Linked DNA regions of Homo sapiens: region 2 is linked to region 1. The links are contacts of gene promoters, found by promoter capture Hi-C in human tissues and cell types (Jung and others, 2019). All regions are on one chromosome and are shown on one strand. Each heading gives the region's core, a stretch centred on a gene start or on the middle of the fragment in contact. The rest is flanking DNA. Distances are from core to core; before and after follow the strand shown. Region 1 holds the start of RIC3 (RIC3 acetylcholine receptor chaperone). Region 2 overlaps STK33 (serine/threonine kinase 33).

What was found. The method cuts DNA at HindIII sites, captures the fragments that hold promoters and counts their contacts. A contact is called where the count stands out against the background at its distance.
Region 2: a contact is called between a fragment that was not itself captured here and the fragment with the promoter of RIC3 in region 1, in 2 of the 25 tissues and cell types used here (adrenal gland and pancreas).

Annotation. Positions count from the first base shown.
Region 1 is chr11:8,167,221-8,171,826 of GRCh38, forward strand. RIC3 (RIC3 acetylcholine receptor chaperone) reads right to left here and starts at 1,805. Exons shown (of 6, transcript NM_001206671.4): 1 at 1,646-1,805. The coding sequence starts at 1,769. RIC3-DT (RIC3 divergent transcript) reads left to right here and starts at 1,850. Exons shown (of 5, transcript NR_187234.1): 1 at 1,850-1,969; 2 at 2,665-2,768. The HindIII fragment of the contact is 6,174 bases long and covers 1-2,645 here.
Region 2 is chr11:8,490,163-8,494,768 of GRCh38, forward strand. All of the region lies in intron 1 of STK33 (serine/threonine kinase 33), which reads right to left. Among named protein-coding and RNA genes, the nearest start is that of STK33, 100 kb to the right of the region's middle. The HindIII fragment of the contact is 7,301 bases long and covers 1-4,606 here.

The DNA.
Region 1 (4,606 bases), core at 555-3,054:
CTTGCAAACTTACATTCTAGAAGGTGAAGACAAAAAAACAAACAAGTAAACACTTAAGAATATTCCATATCATATAGTGATGCCTATCATGAAGAATATAAAACATGATAAAATAGAGAATGATGGGAGAAAAGAGTTATTTTAGTTAGTGTCATCAGGGGAAGTCTCTCTGAGGAGGTTTCATTTGAGCAGAAATTTGAATGATGAGAAGGGCACTGAGGGAAAAGCACAGCACTTCAGGAATAAAGAGAACTGAAGGTACAAAGATCCTAACATGAGAACACTGAATACCAACACTTGAGTTCTCAAGGGAACAACCCATGTCTAATCTCCACTCTACATTTTCTACAACGTTCAGAAGAGTGTCTCCCACTCACAGTCAATAGTACTTGTTCAAGATAATTCACCATAATGGAAAGTAAAAAAAAAAAAAAAAAAGTTTTCGAAGAATCTTCACTGTTCAGGATCATCATGAATTGACTCTTCTTCAAAGTAGACAATATCATTAGACAAAGCAGGTAAAAATCTTTGGGATTATTGCAATAAGACAGAAAGGAAAAAAAAAGAACAAATACGCAAAGATGTTTTAGAAGTCCGTCCCAAGTGGATAGTCTTACAAGCATAAAGATTATCAGGCAAATTCTGTAAACAGAATTATGTGTTCAACCTGCCCTCCACCCCTAAAGCTTGGTGCTTTGCATTTATAGTGTGTATGATGCTCAAGAGAATGGAACTACAGTCAATGTGCATAAAGCAGACGGAAGTGGATTACAGTTCAAAAGGAGCTGTCCAGCAATCAACAGTTTAAACATTACTGGAAGTGTTCAGACACCGTAAAATCATGTCTCAAAGATATTACAAGGATAATTTACAGGAGAAAGTTACCAGTAGAACTTCATGACCTATAGAAAACTGTTCTGGTTCCTTCTCCCAGCCTTCAGCACCGTGCCTTTACACTCATTCTGTAAAAGGCCCCAGTGCAGCTAAGAGGATGAATTTTTAAACACCACATACATCATGCCAACAACGAAGAATTAACAGATAAATACTGTTTCAATAAGGGGAACGTAATAATTTGTTCATAACCACCTCAGTAACTGAAACTGGGGTTATTAAAATCTTCAAGATATATTTTTAAAGGCACAAGAAGAGCCTGAAGCAGTGAGCGCCCAGCACCAAGTTGAAAAAACATAACGACTTAAGGTTTGCTGTACCAATTCCATTTGCCTTGATTTCGTACCAAGCGGCGCGTCAGAAAGTACACGGAAAACCTAAAGAGGGAAACCCAACTGGGAACCCTTGACTCAAAGCACGTGAACAAATGGTGACGAGATGAGTTAAGCCAGCGGGGTAAGAGAGAAGGGACTGCGCCTAAACGGGAGTACGCAAGGCCACCTAGAGGATGCACAGACCTGCATGCATACGTTCCTGACCCTTCCAGCAGCAGAACCATCTGGGCCGCCACCCGCTGATAACAACGGAACCGTGGGCATTGGCCCTTCAACGCCGTCTCGCCCGCCCTCTCCAGTCAGTTTGGTGGATATTTCGGTGAAGGCTGCAGACTCTCAGAGTCACCCCTCCCTCAAGCAGCGTTCTCCGTACTCTTCGGCGCCGGGAAGCTCAGAGGGAGCTGGCCTGCTCTTACCTTCAGGTGTCGGCGGCGGCTCCTGCCGCTTCCCGCGGGACAGGAAGGCCTTGGGCAGCAGCAGCGACAGAGCCAGGACAAGCCCAGAAGCCAGAGCGACTCTCTGCACTGTGGAGTACGCCATGACTGCTCACGGTGGTCGCAGGTGCAGACGCCAGCCGGAACCGGAACCGGAACCGGAGCACGGGCTGCCGCTCCCGACCGAACCGCGGGCGGCGCGGACGGCGTCGCGCGAGGGACAAGGTGCGCGAGGCGCACGCATCTTCACCTCCACTGTCGGGAGTTGACCTGCTCCTCCCGCGTGGTTACCCGTCGCTGTAAATGGTACCCTCGCCTTCCCGTTCATACTAACTAAAAACTCCTCCCTCACTCCCCATGTTCATCTTTTACTGAGTCCTGTGCATTCTACCGCCTACACATCCGGCGGTCGTGCCCGGATCTCTATCCCCACTTACCACCACTGCCCCCCACCCACCCGTAGATCACAACATCCAGTTTCTCCTCATCTCCATGATCTCGCTGTCTTCCAGCTTCCACTCATGCCCCTCGCATTCATTATCCGTCTGCAGCCACAGGTGATAATGCTAAAACACAAGACTAATTCTCTTTCTCTCCAGCTTAAACCTTTTAACTCTCCATTATCTTCAGAACAATAGTTAAACTCCTTTCTATAACCTCAACGCCCTGCATGATCTGGTCTTACCAATGCTCCTTCCAAACTGGATGATTTGCTATTTCTTTAGCATATTGCTTGTCTTCAGGGAAGCTTTGCTTGTCCTGTTCCCACTGCCTGGAAAATTCCTGACACCATCTCCAGTTGTCAAAAACTTCTCTGAAGAACAGCTTAAAAACACTGCTCTCTCGAAACGTTTTCAGTCAGCCTCTCCTTTCTCTACAATCCCACCGTTCTTTGTTACTCTCTTCATTCGTTCATTTAACATTATTTTAGTTTTTACTATGTATTAGACCCTCAACTTGGCACTACAGGGTCTGATGAATAAAATGGATTCCCTTTGTAGGACAGATAATTATCCAAACAAAAAAAATGCAGGAAATATTCTGGATCCCCGAGCAGTCTTCTCAACTGGTACGAGGAAAAGTCAAGAAAAGCCCCTTTGAGAAGGTGAAATTGAGTTAGCTGTTGAAAAATGAGTAACTTATAGGCAGACAGGTGGGAGGGGTTAGAAAGGTATTCCGGAAAAAGGAGGCCAAAAAAATAAAGGCAAATCTGGAAGCTTCCTGGTGTGTTCAGAAAGCTATTGGTAATTCATTTTGGCAGGGCCATAGAGTAGTGACAGGACACGAAGTGCACAAATATAAGCAGGAGCTACATTGTGAAAAGCTTAGGTAGAACTTCCAGTTAAACATGACAGATGTAACATATGCATTTATCTTTGCTTTCCTGGGACAGTGCCCAAAAAGGAAAATAAAGAAATAAAGTATATAAACTACAAGACTAAATGCAATGATAGAAAACATGACAGCAGATGAGAAATGTCAATTTTGTAAGACGCACACAACACTGTCCAATAGACACATAATACCAGCCACATATGTAATTTAAATTTTTCCAGTAGCCACATTTAAAAAGTAAAAATAAGTAAAATTTATTTTAATAATATTTTAAACCAAGATAGCAAAAATATTTCAAATTTTATCAGCACGATAGTGTGGCTCGTTGGCGCCCACAGTAGACAGTGCAGGTGTAGAGCATAAAAAGTTAAATGCCTGTGGACTGAAAGCCTGTAAGGAGTGAACTAATTTGCCCCTCAGAACCCATGCTCTTAAGAATTGGAGGTACTGGGTTCCTTTAAAGCCAAGGGTGCAGAGTGGGTCTGAATGAAGGATTGGCTGGAAATCTGATTAAAAAGCAGTTGAGACTGGGCACAGTGGCTCACACCTATAATCCCAGGGCTTTGGGAGGCCAAGGCTGGAGGATGGCTTGAGGCCAAGAGTTCAAGGCCAGCCTGGGCAACATAGGGAGAGCCCTAATCTCTACCAAAAAAATGTAAAAAATTAACCAGGCATGGTGGTGTGCACCTGTAGTCCCAACTACTCAGGAAGCTGAGGTGGGAAGATCACTTGAGCCCAAGAGTTTGAGGCTGCAGTGAGCTATGATTGTGTGAAACCACAATTAATTATGATATATAAGATGATAATAATGCCTGAATGAAGCCAGTAGGGGCACCCACTCCAGCCAGGGTGACAGAGTGAGACCCTGTCTCTAAAAAAAAATTGTTTGATTTTTTTAAAGCAATGGATATCTTCTGAATCTCTTTCCTTGATTCATGCAGCCAGATGGGTGCCACTGCTGGCTTCACTCGGGCATTATTATCATTGATGTTATTAACATCACTAAAAGTTAGAGTACTAATTATGTTTTAGGCATCTTACATATCATAATTATTCCTCCCAATAACTTCAAGAGGTAAGCAATATTATTATATACCCATTTCACAGGTAAGAAAATGGAGCCCCAGAAAACATAATTTACTTGCCAACAATTACACAGTATAAACTGGATGCTATGATTTGAACACAGGCATGCTTACTCAAGAATTTGCCCTCTTAGCTACCAGGTTTACTGTCTGGGGAGGTTTAGTCAGAAAACCTCTGGACTCCTGGACTATAGATGCAGCTTAGGGAGGAGGTGACTAATGGGATGTGGTCTCTAAGAAATACAGAGGGGTCTGGAATGACCACACTCCCCCCCGCCCTCCGCCACCAAATTCTAGCTTGGGTAAATGGTAGACATTAATTCTATATAACATGATTTTAAGAATAGAAGAATCAGGTTTGTGAGAAAGATGAAGAGTTCAGATTTTGACTAGCTGAATTTGAAGTTCCATGAAATATCCAAGTAGAAATATCCAGTTGGATATATGGGCCTGGAGCTCAGAAGAGATGTTTGGGCTAGAAACAATAGGAAATCATCAGCCCATCTATAGTAAATGAAGTCTA
Region 2 (4,606 bases), core at 919-3,418, 320 kb after region 1:
CCAAGGGAAACTGTGACAGACCATACCTGGAAAAACAGGACACTCCTGCCTAAATACTGTACTTTTCCAATGGTCTTAGCAAACGGCACACCAGGAGATTATATCCCCTGCATGGCTGGATAGGTCCTACGCCTATGGAGCCTTGCTCACTGCCAGCACAGCAGTCTGAGAAGGATCTGTGAGGCAGCAACCTGGCAGGGGGAGGGGCGTCCACCATTGCTGAGGCTTGAGTAGGTAAACAAAGCAGTCAGGGAAGCTTGAACTGGGCAGAGCGCACCACAGCTCACCAAGGCCTGCTGCCTCTGTAGACTCCACGTCTGGGGGCAGGGCATAACTGAAGAAAAGGCAGCAGAAACTTCTGCAGACTTAAACGTCCCCGTCTCACAGCTGTGAAGAGAGCAGTGGTTCTCCCAGCATGGTGTTTGAGCTCTGAGAACGGACAGACTACCTCCTCAAGTGGGTCCCTGACCCCTGTGTAGCCTAACTGGAGACACCTTCCAGTAGGGGGCTGATTGACACCTCATACAGGCAGGTGCCCCTCTGGAACAAAGCTTCCAGAAGGATCAGGCAGAAATATTTGCTGTTCTGCAATCTTTGTTGTTCTGCAGCCTCTGCTGGTGATCCCCAGGGAAACACGGTCTGGAGTAGACCTCCAGCAAACTCCAACACACCTGCAGCTAAGGGATCTGACTGTTAAAAGGAAAACCAACAAACGGAAAGGAATAGGATCAACATCAACAAAAAGGATATCCACACCAAAACCCCATCTGTAGGTCACCAACATCAAAGACCAAAGGTAGATAAAAACCACAAAGATGGGGAGAAACCAGAATAGAAAAGCTGAAAATTCTAAAAACCAGAGCACCTCTTCTCCTCCAAAGGATTGCAGCTCCTCGCCAGTAACAGAACAAAGCTGGACAGACAATGATTTTGACAAGTTGACAGAAGTAGGCTTCAGAAGGTCAGGAATAAGAAACTTCTCCAAGCTAAATGAGGATGTTTGAACCTATCGCAAGGAAGCTAAAAACCTTGAAAAAAGATTAGACGAATAGCTAACTAGAATAAACAGTGTAGAAAAGAACTTAAATGACCTGATGGAGCTGAAAACCATGGCGCAAGAACTACATGATGCATGTACAAGCTTCAGTAGCCGATTTGATCAAGTGGAAGAAAGGGTATCAGTGACTGAAGATCAAATGAATGAAATAAAGCAAGAGGAGAAGTTTAGAGAAAAAAGAGTAAACAGAAATGAACAAAGCCTCCAAGAAATATGGGACTAGGTGAAAAGACCAAATCTACGTTTGATTGGTGAAACTGAAAGTGACAGGGAGAATGGAACCAAGTTGGAAAACACTCTTCAGGATATTATCCAGGAGAATTTCCCCAACCTAGCAAGGCAGGCCAACATTCAAATTCAGGAAATACAGAGAACACCATAAAGATATTCCTTGAGAAGAGCAACCCCAAGACACATAATTGTCAGATTTACCAAGATTGAATTGAAGGAAAACAATGTTAAGGGCAGCCAGAGAGAAAGGTCAGGTTACTCACAAAGGGAAGCCCATCAGACTAACAGCAGATCTCTCAGCAGAAACTCTACAAGCCAGAAGAGAGTGAGAGCCAATATTCAACATTCTTAAAGAAAAGAATTTTCAACCCAGAATTTCATATCCAGCCAACTAAGCTTCACAAGTGAAGAGGAAATAAAATCCTTTCTAGACAAGCAAATGCTGAGAGATTTTGTCACCACCAGGCCTGCCCTAAAAGAGCTCCTGAAGGAAGCACCAAACACGGAAAGGAACAACCAGTACCAGCCACTGCAAAAACACGCCAAATTGTAAAGACCATCAATGCTAGGAAGAAACTGCATCAACTAACAGGCAAAATAACCAGCTAACATCATAATGACAGGATCTAATTCACACATAACAATATTAACCTTAAATGTAAATGGGCTAAATGCCCCAATTAAAAGACACAGACTGGCCAATGAGATAAAGAGTCAAGACCCATCAGTGTGCTGTATTCAGGAAACCCATCTCACGTGCAGAGACACACATAGGCTCAAAATAAAGGGATGGAGGAAGATCTACCAAGCAAATGGAAAACAAAAAAAAAAGCAGGGGTTGCAATCCTAGTCTCTGATAAAACAGACTTTAAACCAACAAAGATCAAAAGAGACAAAGAAGGCCACTACATAATGGTAAAGGGATCAATTCAACAAGAAGAGCTAACTATCCTAATTATATATGTACCCAATACCAGAGCACCCAGATTCATAAAGCAAGTCATTAGAGAACTACAAAGAGACTTAGACTCCCACACAATAATAACAGAAGACTATAACACCCCACTGTCAATATTAGACAGATCAACGAGACAGAAAGTTAACAAGGATATCCAGGACTTGAACTCAGCTGTGCACCAAGCCAACTAAATAGTCATCTACAGAACTCTCCACCCCAAATCAACAGAATATACATTCTTCTCAGCACCACATCACACTTATTCCAAAATTGACCACATAGTTGGAAGCAAAGCTCTCCTCAGCAAATGTAAAAGAACAGAAATCACAACAAACTGTCTCTCATATGACAGTGCAATCAAATTAGAACTCAGGATTAAGAAACTCACTCAAATCCTGAAAAGTGCATGGAAACTGAACAACTTACTTCTGAATGACTACTGGGTAAATAACGAAATGAAGGCAGAAATAAAGATGTTCTTTGAAACCAATGAGAACGAAGACAAAACGTACCAGAATCTCTGGGACACATTTAAAGCAGTGTATAGAGGGAAACTTATAGCACTAAATGCCCACAAGAGAAAGCAGGAAAGATCTAAAATTGACACCCTAACATTACAATTAAAAGAACTAGAGAAGCAAGAGCAAACAAATTCAATAACTAGCAGAAGGCAAGAAATAACTAAGATCAGAGCAGAACTGAAGGAGATAGAGACACAAAAAACCCTTCAAAAAATCAATGAATCTGGGAGCTGGTTTTTTGAAAAGATCAACACAATTGATGGACCGCTAGCAAGACTAATAAAGAAGAAAACAGAGAAGAATCAAATAGACACAATAAAGATGATAAAGGGGATAGCACCACCGATGACACAGAAATACAAACTACCATCAGAGAATACTGTAAACATCTCTATGCAAATAAAATAGAAAATCTAGAAAAAATTGATAAATTCCTGGACACATACACCCTCCCAAGACTAAACAAGGAAGAAGTTCAATCTCTGAATAGACCAATAACAGGCTCTGAAATTGAGGCAATAATAAACAGCCTACCAACCAAAAAATGTCCAGGACCAGACGGATTCACAGTGGAATTCTACCAGAGGTATGAACAGGAGCTGGTACCATTCCTTCTGAAACGATTTCAATCAATAGAAAAAGAGAAAATCCTCCCTAACTCATTTTATGAGGCCAGCATCATCCTGATACCAAAGCCTGGCAGAGACACAACAAAAAAAGAGAATTTTAGAACAATATCCCTGATGAACATCAATGCTAAAATCCTCAATAAAATACTGGCAAACTGAATCCAGCAGCACATCAAAAAGTTTATCCACCACGATCAAGTTGGCTTCATCCCTGGGATGCAAGACTGGTTCAACATACCCAAATCACTATATGTAATCCATCACATAAACAGAACCAATGACAAAAACCACATGACTATCTTAATAGATGCAGAAAAGGACTTTGACAAAATTCAACAGCCCTTCATGCTAAAGACTCTCAAAAAACTACGCACTGATGGAATGTATCTCAAAATAATAAGAGCTATTTATGACAAACCCACAGCCACTATCATACTGAATGGGCAAAAACTGGAAGCATTCCCTTTGAAAACCTGCACAAGACAGGGATGCCCTCTCTCACCATTCCTATTCAACAAAGTATTGGAAGTTCTGGCCAGAGCAAGCAGGCAATAGAAAGAAATGAAGGGTACTCAATTAGGAAAAGAGAAAGTCAAATTGTCCCTGTTTGCAGATGACATGATTGTATATTTAGAAAACCCCATCGTCTCAGCCCAAAATCTCCTTAAGCTGATAAGCAACTTCAGCAAAGTCTCAGGATACAAAATCAATGTGCAAAAATCACAAACATTCCTATACACCAATAACAGACAAACAGCCAAATCATGAGTGAACTCCCATTCACAATTGCTACAAAGAGAATAAAATACCTAGGAATCCAACTTACAAGGGATGTGAAGGACCTCTTCAAGGAGAACTACAAACCACTGCTCAACGAAATAAAGGAGGACACAAACAAATGGAAGAACATTTCATGCTCATGGATAGGAAGAATCAATATTGTGAAAATGGCCATACTGCCCAAGGTAATTTTATAGATTCAATGCCATCCCCATGAAGCTACCAATGACTTTCTTCACAGAATTGGAAAAAACTACTTTAAAGTTCATACGGAACCAAAAAAGAGCCCACATTGCCAAGACAATCCTAAGCAAAAAGAACAAAGCTGGAGGCATCACACTACCTGACTTCAAACTATATACAAGGCTACAGTAACCAAAACAGCCTGGTACTGGTACCAAAACAGAGATATAGATCAATGGAACAGAAC